Regions from separate parts of the Homo sapiens genome. Here region 2 is linked to region 1. The links are contacts of gene promoters, found by promoter capture Hi-C in human tissues and cell types (Jung and others, 2019). All regions are on one chromosome and are shown on one strand. The core of a region is centred on a gene start or on the middle of the fragment in contact, and the rest is flanking DNA. Distances in the headings are between cores, read along the strand shown.

Region 1 (4,944 bases), core at 1,111-3,610:
ATTGTTCTGCCCCTGGGGCTTTGGAGGATTTTTTGCTCCAGAGAGGGGTAGGCTGGAAGCACTGAAAAGTTAACCCCCAAATCAACCTTCAACCCCAGAGGGATGGGGCCTTGTGGATAAATATCCCAGCTTCTTAAATCCTCAGTGGGAAAATTCTGAGATGTGTTCTATGCATGCCCTTAGGGGGTCCCCTGAAGGATTAAGCCCCAGTTGCCCACTCATTATCACATTCTTTCAGAGCCTGCTTTTGGAGGAGAGCCTAAGCTAAGACAGCCCTGCCCAGTAACCCTCCAAAAGCAGCACCTCTAACACCCCTACCCACAAGGCATCCCAGGAGCCCACCCTCTGACCGGCCTCAGGCGCCTTTCCAGATCAACTCTGCCCCTGCCTGTAGTGACCTCGACTGGGTATTGGCCACAGGACAGGAGCCCAGTGGAGCTGTGCCCACTGGACCCCAGAGGAAAAGGCCAAGGACACACCCAGTGCCTGTGACCCACCCTGCACAGCTGAATTGCAGGGAGATGTGATCCCTGAGAACATGGAACAGAGGCTGAGGGTGCACCGGATGCAGATGTTGTTTCTGAATTGGATTGTACACAAAACATCCAATGGTGTGTGCCAGGTGTGTGCGTGCATGGCCTACCCAGTGTGAGCTGTAAATATGTTCTAGGCAGTGGTGGCTTTAGCATTTTCTTTTCTTTTTTTGTCTTTTTTGAGTCTTGCTCTGTCGCACAGGCTGGAGTGCAGTGGCACGATTTCAGCTCACTGCAACCTCTGCCTCCCAGGTTCAAGCGATTCTCCTTCCTCAGCCTCCTGAGTAGCTGGGACCACAGGTGCCCAACACCACGCCCAGCTAATTTTTTATATTTTTTAGTAGAGATGGGGGTTTTGCCATGTTGGCCAGAGTGGTCTCGAACTCCTGACCTCAGGTGATCCACTCGCCTCGACCTCCCAAAGTGCTGGGATTACGGGTGAGAGCCACCGCGCCTGGCCCCCCCACCCAATCTCTGGCTCCTTATTTTCCCCCAAGGCTAGCCATAGAAACTAGAATCCATCTTCCCCAAGGTGGGTCATAGAAACCAGAACTCCTTTTCTCCAAAGCTGCCACCATAAAACCTAAAAATATGATTCTAATTTCCCCCCGCCTTTCTGTCTGAAAACTGGCCGTAAAGAAATGATCTGACCTACCTAGTTTCATTGTAGATCATAAGACTCCCTTCTAGAGAGGGTCCTGCCCCGTGTCTGGGAGAAAGGAACACTGTATAGAGAGGCCAAGAAGAACCTAGATGGCCTTGCTGAGTTTCCCCACTCCGTCTATAACATCAGTTCATCCCTTTTTTAATCCAATTCTATTTCTGCGTGGCTATCCAAACCTTGTTGAACCTAAGCATAAAAATGAACCATTTCCTCTGTATCTTTAGGTCTTTATTCTGAAGGTTCTGTGGCACATAAAACGGTAATCAAATAAATTTGTATGCCTTTTCTCTTATTAATCTGCCTTTTGTCAGTTGATTTTCAGCAGAGCTTCAGAGGGCAAAGAGGAAGTTTTCCCGCAGCCCCTAGAGTGGCCTGGGTAATTGGGAATCCTGTGTCATTCCTATGTTTACAGCACTGGCCACGGAAAGGTGACAAACGATAGGAACAGAAATATGTTTCCAGAGTGGAAACTGGCAAGTGGCTCTCTGTGAGCCGATAATTCCTAGTTGGGGAAAGGAGAGGGCGCACCTGGCAGTACCTGTAGGGTGGGTGGAGAATCCCCTGATAATGAGAATGGTTGGGGTCTGGGGGTGCACTTGACAGTGCCTGTGGGGTGGCTGGGGAGCCCCTGGCAAAGCTCATGGGTCACTGAGTGGTGTGGGACCGCACCTGATGATGCCTGGGTCCTTCCTCCGGTGCCCTGCGGGCCGGCGCCACTCCTCGACCATCACCACAGACTGCCGGTTGGCGAGGAGGCCGCAGAGAAACAGGGCGAGCGGGGGCGTCAGCAGCAGGCCCAGGCCGTAGAGTGCATTGTAGTGCACCAGGCAGGGACAGTTGAAGTCAAAGGAGGAGTACAGCTTGACGGTGACCGCAGCCAGCAGCAGGCAGATGCCATTCATCACCGACTCCGAGCTTGACTGGAAGTGCTGGAAGAGCATGCGGAATTTATCCATGGCTCCAGCCTGGGTGGGTGGGCGGCCGTCGGTTCGGCTCAGTGAGGCTCTGGCCACCTTCCTGGTGTCTGCTGTGCTGGGGACGAGCCTGGGATCTGCAAGAGGTTCTCTCTCTGCTTCCAAGGGCCTGAGGGGCCAAGGAGGAAGCAGTGCCCAGGCCCCAGCCCAGGCTCCCGGGATCCAGTAGGCACTTAAGGCAGGGACAGGCTCTCACCACAAAGGCTCCCCTGCCCAGCCCAATGGTCCCCTGGTGCCACTCCCCTCCTGTCTGGGGGAGTGAGTCACCCTCTGTGACCGGGCAGCCCAAAGCACCTCTAGGCAAATGGGCCCCGCCCTGTCACTCCATTCCTCCCGGCCCATTTCTCTTTGCTTTACGGTCTGGATGCTCAGGCTTGACAGCCGTTGGAGCTTCCTTCGGGGGACAGGCAAATTCTGGGTGTGGTGAGGAAAAGATGCTGATGGAGCCAAGGTAGTATATTTTCTGGTCTTGATCAAAAGCATGACTCTGAACTTGTCTCACAGGCATAGTAAAACAACAGCAACAACAACAACAAAATATGACGACTCAGCTCAGCCCAGGGAGATTTCATGTTGGCTTTCAGGCTAGGAGGAGCCAGAAGGGGCACCTATTCCTGACCGAAGGCTTCCTGGAAGAGGAGACCCTTGAGAGGAGTCTTCAACGATGTTTCAGCATTTGCCATGAAAGGGGTAGCGGAAGGGGATGGCCTCCCTGGGCGACGTGCTAAACATTGTGCATTAACCACTGGGTGCCCATGGGAGAGGCTGCTCAAGTGCCACGCCCACACCTGCATGGCTTTCCCCCTGCCCTTCTTCCGTGTGAGGGGCATGCGTTTGAAATCACTGCTTCTTCTCCTAACTCTCCCACATCACTAGGTCTCTCCTTGTGTCTCAGTTCCAGTCTCTCCGAAGGATGACAGCCCAGATGTTTGAGGGACCCCTGAAACCTGCAAAACGAATTTTGTAAAGGTCACTTGGCCCATATTGTAAGTCAGATCATCCCAAATAAGTCTTGCAAATTTCGTAACCATCTGTGTGGTCTGTACTTCTGATGAAGACAGACAGAAACCTGGGTCTTACTTATTATTATTATTATTATGAGATAGAGTCTTGTTCTGTCACCCAGGCTGGAGTGCAGTGGCACGATCTTGGTTCACTGCAGCCTCTGCCTCCCGGGTTCAAGTGATTCTCCTGCCTCAGCTTCCAAGTAGCTGGGATTACAGGCACCCACCACCACGCCCAGCTAATTTTTGTATTTTTAGTAGAGACAGGGGTTTTGCCATGTTGGTCAGGCCGGTCTCGAACTCCTGACCTCAGGTGATTTGGCCCCCTTGGCCTTCCAAAGTGCTGGGATTACAGGCATGAGCCACTGAGCCTGGCCACTTAGTATTTTTATTTTCCATATTTGTACGTTACTCTAGGTCCTATGAGACAGATTTCCCTGTGTGAGGGAAATGAGGCACTGGAGAAGATGGGGAGAGCCACCAGTGGCCCTGTGAGTCTGACTCTGAGCGGAGGAGAGGGCGGGGCAGGGGTGAGAAACCCTTCAAGCCAGGAGGACCACCACAACTTCAGGTGGGTACAGTCCCAGAGGGGCTGTTGGAGGTCACATACCCTGGCGGGGACAGAGCCAGGGAGGAAGCTGGGATCCTCCATCTGTGCCTTTCAGCCTTAGTCACCCACTGGGCTGCTGACCAGAAAAGGGGACTGTCCTGGCCCAAGGCCAGGCTTCGTGACCCTGAACCAGCAGGGCTGGTGTGGAGCAGGCGGGGAGCTAACTGGGCTGGGAGGGTCATGAGCACCCCTCAATCCCATTCTAGTCTCAGGGAGGGATAGAGTGTCCTAAGGGTCCCCAGCCACTCTAACCTTGAGAGTTCAGAAAACAATAGACAATGCTTCTGGAAGAACACTTTGAAGAAAACTGGGTCAAAGACTCCAGGCCAACCTTTTCACAGCTCCAGCCTCTGAGAGGTAAGACAGAGCTACCAGGTCAGCCTGGGTCCCTGGAGCCCTGCAGGGCAACAGGTGCTGAGTGACTGCAGCGGGGCTGACCCTTGCCGGGTATTTACAGGAAATACTTCAGTAAAGAAACAGGCCAGAAAGAAGCCCACCACAAAAGGGATATTATCTGTCAAAGAGAGGGGATGGCTTACATTTTTTTTTAAATCTCTATTTTCTGAATTGTCGACTTTTATAATAGTAGACATAATAAATCATTACTATAATCATAATAATGATTTTTAACTATTTCCAGCAAAAATCATAAAACATTTTAATTAGAAAAACATAAAAAGATAAAAGGACAAGGCAAAAAGGAGAATTCCATTTTGTTGCCTGGAGCTTGGCCCTGCTGAACTAGTAGAGAGAGAACTAGAGGCAGCAATAAATGGAGAAAGGCTTCTTTTACTCACACATATGGAAAGATATTAAATTGCAGATCTGGCCGGGCGTGGTGGCTCACGCCTGTAATCCCAGCACTTTGGGAGGCCGAGGCAGGCAGATTGCCTGAGCTCAGGAGTTTGAGACCAGCCTGGCCAACATGGCAAAACCCCATCTCTATTAAAAATACAAAAAATTAGTCGGGCATAGTGGTGCATGCCTGTAATCCCAGCTACTTGGGAGGCTGAGGCTTGAGAATTGCCTCTCTTGAGGCTGAGGCATGAGAATTGCTTGAACCCAGGAGGCGGAGGCTGCAGTGAGCCCAGATCATGCCACTGCTCTCCAGCCTGGGCAACAAAGAGAGACTAAAAATAAATTACATTTTTCTTTTTAA
Region 2 (4,944 bases), core at 1,612-4,111, 97 kb before region 1:
ATATAGAGTTCAAGTTTGTTAATAGTCAAAAGGTAATTTTGACTCTCTTTTTCTTTCACAGAATCCCTCTTCCTGAGTTGAAAGATTCAGATAAGTTGGATAAGATAATGAATATGAAAGAAACCACCAAACGAGTGCGCCTTGGGCCGGACTGCTTACCCTCCATTTGTTTCTATACATTTCTCAATGCTTACCAGGTTGGTAAAAAAATTGGGCGATTTCTGCCTGGAGAGTCATGTAGGATGATGATTTACCATTAAGAGAGAAACAAATGTATTAGCTAAAATGGAGTTTCGTTATTTAAACTCCTTTTTTTTTTTTTTCTGAGACAGAGTCTCGCTCTGTCGCCCAGCTGGAGTGCAGTGGCGCGATCTCAGCTCACTGCAATGTCCGCCTCCCAGGTTCATGCCATTCTTCTGCCTCAGCTTCCCCAGCAGCTGGGACTACAGGCGCATACCGCCATGCCCGGCTAATTTTTTGTATTTTTAGTAGAGATGGGGTTTCACCGTGTTAGCCAGGATGGTCTCGATCTCCTGACCTTGTGATCCGCCTGCCTCAGCCTCCCAAAGTGCTGGGATTACAGGCATGAGCCACCGCATGTGGCCCCTAAACTCTTATACAATTTAAAGACAGCATTCAGGAAGAGAGAATTGGATACTGCACAGAATAGATAGAAGTCAATGTTTAATGGCATTTGTTTCACCGATCAGAATTCTGCTAGCCTTTGAGGAGGAGCAAATTGTAGTTCATTTCTGTTGAACTTGGTTTAAGTACTTACGTAAACTTATTTATCAATTTTTTTTTTTTTTTGAGACAGAGTTTTGTGCTGTCACCTAGGGTGGAGTGCAGAGGTGAGATCTCAGCTCACTGCAACCTCTGCCTCCCGGGTTCAAACGATTCTTGTGCCTCAGCCTCGGCCTCCTGAATAGCTGGGATTACAGGCACCCTCCACCATGCCTGGCTAATTTTTGTATTTTTAGTAGAGACAGGATTTTGCCGTGTTGCCCAGGCTGGTCTTGAACTCCTGACCTCAAGTGATCTGGCCGCCTCAGCCTCCCAAAGTGCTGGGATTACAGGCGTGAGCCACCGTGCCCAGCCATATAAACCTTATTTTATTTTATTATTTTAATTTAATTTCATTTTTTGAGATGGAGTCTTGCTCTGACACCTAGGCTGGAGTGCGGTGGTGCAATTTTGGCTCACTGCAACCTCCGCCTCCCAGTTCAAGTGATTCTCCTGCCTCAGCCTCCTGAGTAGCTGGGATTATAGGCATGAGCCACCACGCCCAGCTAATTTTTGTATTTTCAGTAGAGAAGGGGTTTCACCAGGTTGACCAGGCTGGACTTGAATTCCTGAGCTCAGGCAATCCACCCGCCTCAGCCTCCTAAAGTGCTGTGATAACAGGCATGAACCCCCGCGCCCGGCCAAACTTAGTATTTTATTTTATTATTATTTTTTTTTTGAGATGGAGTCTCACTCTGTCGCCCAGGCTGGAGTGCAGTGGCACGATTTTGGCTCACTGCAACCTCTGCCTCCTGGGTTCAAGTGATTCTCTTGCGTCAGCCTCACAAGTAGATGGGATTACAGGTGCCCACCACCCTGCTTGGCTAATTTTGGTATTTTTAGTAGAGATGGGGTTTCACCATGTTGGCCAGGCTGGTCTTGAACTCCTAACCTCAGGTGATCCACCTGTCTCAGCCTCCCAAATTGTTGGGATTACAGGCATGAGCCAGTGCGCTTGGCCAATATTTTAAATCAAGAATTTTAAAAGTCTTTATATATTCCTTAAAATAGAGGATTGAGGAGATATTTAGTATAGTGTGAAAATGATTAACATTTGCTTCCTATCTCTAAATATCCTAAAATAGTATTGTTTAGTCTAACCCTTTTATTGGCAGGGTCTCACTGCAGTGGATGTCACTGATGATTCTAGTCTGATTGCTGGAGGTTTTGCAGATTCAACTGTCAGAGTGTGGTCGGTAACACCCAAAAAGCTTCGTAGTGTCAAACAAGCATCAGGTAACTGAGATGACCTTTTGGAATGTGAACTTGCCATTAGTCTATACCAATCTTGATTCCATGGAAAATACACAGGAGATTGTGTTCTTTACAGAAATTCACTTGATTTTACTTTAACTCAAGATTCTAACATTCCCAACAGTGAAAAAAGCTTTGGAGTGACTGGGGTGCTAGACTGGTTTAATTTCTTTAGGTCTCAGTTTTCTCATCTGTAGAATGAGTGAGTATTAAGCTAAAAAACTTAAAGTTAAAAATCTAACATTTTATGATTGCTTGTAAATCTTAAAAAATCTTTAAATAAGGGATGGTACTTCCTGTTTTAGTCATAAAAATGGCTAAAAAGAACAAATAAGGTCAGGATTTTATTTGAAAGTTTTTTACTTTTTGTTTTTTTGAGACAGAGTCTCGCCCTGTCACCCAGGCTAGAGTGCAATGGCGCAGTCTTGGCTCACTACAGCCTCTACCTCCCAGGTTCAAGGGATTTTCTTGTGTCAGCTCCCCAGCTCCCCAGTAGCTGGGATTACAGGTGCCCACCACCATGCCCAGGTAATTTTTGTATTTTTAGTAGAGATAGGGTTTCGCCATGTTGGCCAGGCTGGTCTCGAACTCCTGACCTCAAGTGATCCGCCTGTCTGGCCTCCCAAAGTGCTGGAATTATAGGTGGCTCACTGCAACCTCCACCTCCCTGGTTCAAGCGATTTTCCTGCCTCCACACCCGGCCTGAAATAAAGTTTTTTACTAACTATATTATTTAAATAAAACAATATATTTTAAATTATTTCAATATTTCCATAGGTTTTTTTTTTTTAATTTTAAATTTTTTTTAGATGGGGTCTCACTCTGTTGCCCAGGCTAGAATGCAGTGGTGTGATCACGGCTCACTGCAGCCTCTAATCCCTGGGCTGAAGTGATCCTCCCACTTCAGCCTCCTGAGTAGCTGAGACTACAGGTGTGTGCAACCACACTGGCTAATTTTTTATTTTTTGTAGAGACAGGGTTTCTCCATGTTGTCCAGGCTGGTCTCGAACTCCTCTGGGCTCAAGCAATCTGCCCGCCTTGGCCTACCAAAATTCTGAGACTACAGGTGTGAGCCACCATGCCTGGCCCATAGTTTTCATTTTGTGAAACACTGTGGCATAGTGGGCAAAACTGAGTTTCAGTTCTGGTTCCCACACTGAGTAGCTGTGTGCACTCTAGCAAATTATCTGTTCTGAACGTCATTTTCTTCTCTTACACGCTGAGATGATACTGCCTAATTTAGAGGGATTAGCAAAGTGCGGTTGGTATATAGGAGGAAATTTTCAAATGTTAATTCCTCTCCTGCACTGTGATATGATTACTTTAAAAGTTTTGATGAATGTACTTATAAAATATCAATATTTCTGGACCATTTTAGATCTTAGTCTTATAGACAAAGAATCAGATGATGTCTTAGAAAGAATCATGGATGAGAAAACAGCAAGTGAGTTGAAGATTTTGTATGGTCACAGTGGGCCTGTCTACGGAGCCAGCTTCAGTCCGGATAGGTAAAATACAAACAATAAAAATTAAATACTGCTATGTTATATTGAAATTATATAAAAGTTAACTACTGGAAACATTATGCAAATGCTGGGAAAATTCTGATAAAAATCTCATGGTTGTCTGACGTTCATCATCTTTTAGAATCTTGCCATTTGCTAATTCATCTTTGAATCCTGGTGTTTGTACATGGTAGCAATTTAATGTATACTCACTTTTTTTTTTTTTTTTTTGAGACAGAGTTTCGCTCTTGTTGCCCAGGTTGGAGTGCAATGGCGTGATCTTGGCTTACCGCAACCTCCGCCTCCTGGGTTCAAGCGATTCTCCTGGCTCAGCCTCCTGAGTAGCTGGGATTACAGGCATGCGCCACCACACCTGGCTAATTTTATTTTTTTATTAGAGATGGGGTTTCTCCATGTTGGTCAGGCTGGTCTTGAACTCTCAACCTCAGGTGATCTGCCCACCTCAGCCTCCCAAAGTGCTGGGATTACAGGCGTGAGCCACTGTGCCTGGCCTGTATACTCAAATTTATAGAATCAAAATGCACAGTTTCAGGGCTTACTGGTTTTAAAAATTAGCTTTAGTATTTCCCTTTTTTTTTTTTAATTATTTTTATTTGTTACCCAATGGTAAATAACCAACCAAAGCTTTAGTTTTATAGAACTCCATTAGGGGTTGAATTGCTTCATTGGGTCCCTGCATTGTGTCTTCTGGCTGCTTCATCAAATTTAAGACAAATTCCTGACATTAATGGCATATTAGCTAGTAATTGAGGATTAATCTTTCTATAATCAAAAGTACTAAGAGTAAATGAAAAAGGAAATTCAAAATTGGTTTGCTTCCCTTTAGGTGTATGATTACAATGTCATCCTATGTGTATAGGTATTTGCCTATTTTTCATGATCTCTAACACTGTAAAAATGGGTGGAGGGTGTTTTGTATTCATAATACCATCAGTATATTACTTGGATAGATAATAGCTTTCAGGCCGGGCACAGTGGCTCACGCCTATAATCCCAGCACTTTGGGAGTCCAAGACAGGCGCATCACCTGAGATCAGGAGTTTGAGACCAGCCTGGCCAACATGGGAAATCCTGTCTCCACTAAAAAGTACAAAAATTAGCAGGGTGTGGTGGCGCCCACCTGTAATCCTGGCTACTTGGGAGGCCGAGGCAGGAAAGTCACTTGAACATGGGAGGCAGAGGTTGCAATGAGCCGAGATTGCACCACTGCACTCCAGCCTGGGTGATAAGAGCAAAACTCCATCTCAAAAAAAGAAGAAAAGAAAAAAAGATAATAGCTTTCCATCCATCAAGGTTTCATCATTACGAAACTTTGAGAATTAGGTTTTTTGTTGCTTGATAAGGTTTTGCCAGATGATACATTTTTGAGGGAAACGTCTGA

Evidence for each region. Contacts are between HindIII fragments. The study calls those that stand out against the background at their distance.
Region 2: a contact is called between a fragment that was not itself captured here and the fragment with the promoter of CALHM3 in region 1, in 2 of the 25 tissues and cell types used here (H1 embryonic stem cells and liver).

What each region holds. Positions count from the first base shown.
Region 1 is chr10:103,476,880-103,481,823 of GRCh38, forward strand. CALHM3 (calcium homeostasis modulator 3) reads right to left here and starts at 2,361. Exons shown (of 3, transcript NM_001129742.2): 1 at 1,867-2,361. The coding sequence starts at 2,153. NEURL1-AS1 (NEURL1 antisense RNA 1) reads right to left here. Exons shown (of 4, transcript NR_120675.1): 4 at 2,724-3,118. RefSeq lists enhancers at 1-24, 25-919. The HindIII fragment of the contact is 15,318 bases long and covers 1-4,944 here.
Region 2 is chr10:103,379,823-103,384,766 of GRCh38, forward strand. It overlaps TAF5 (TATA-box binding protein associated factor 5), which reads left to right. Exons shown (of 11, transcript NM_006951.5): 5 at 62-197; 6 at 1,899-2,019; 7 at 3,416-3,545. Among named protein-coding and RNA genes, the nearest start is that of MIR1307, 12 kb to the right of the region's middle. The HindIII fragment of the contact is 4,253 bases long and covers 736-4,944 here.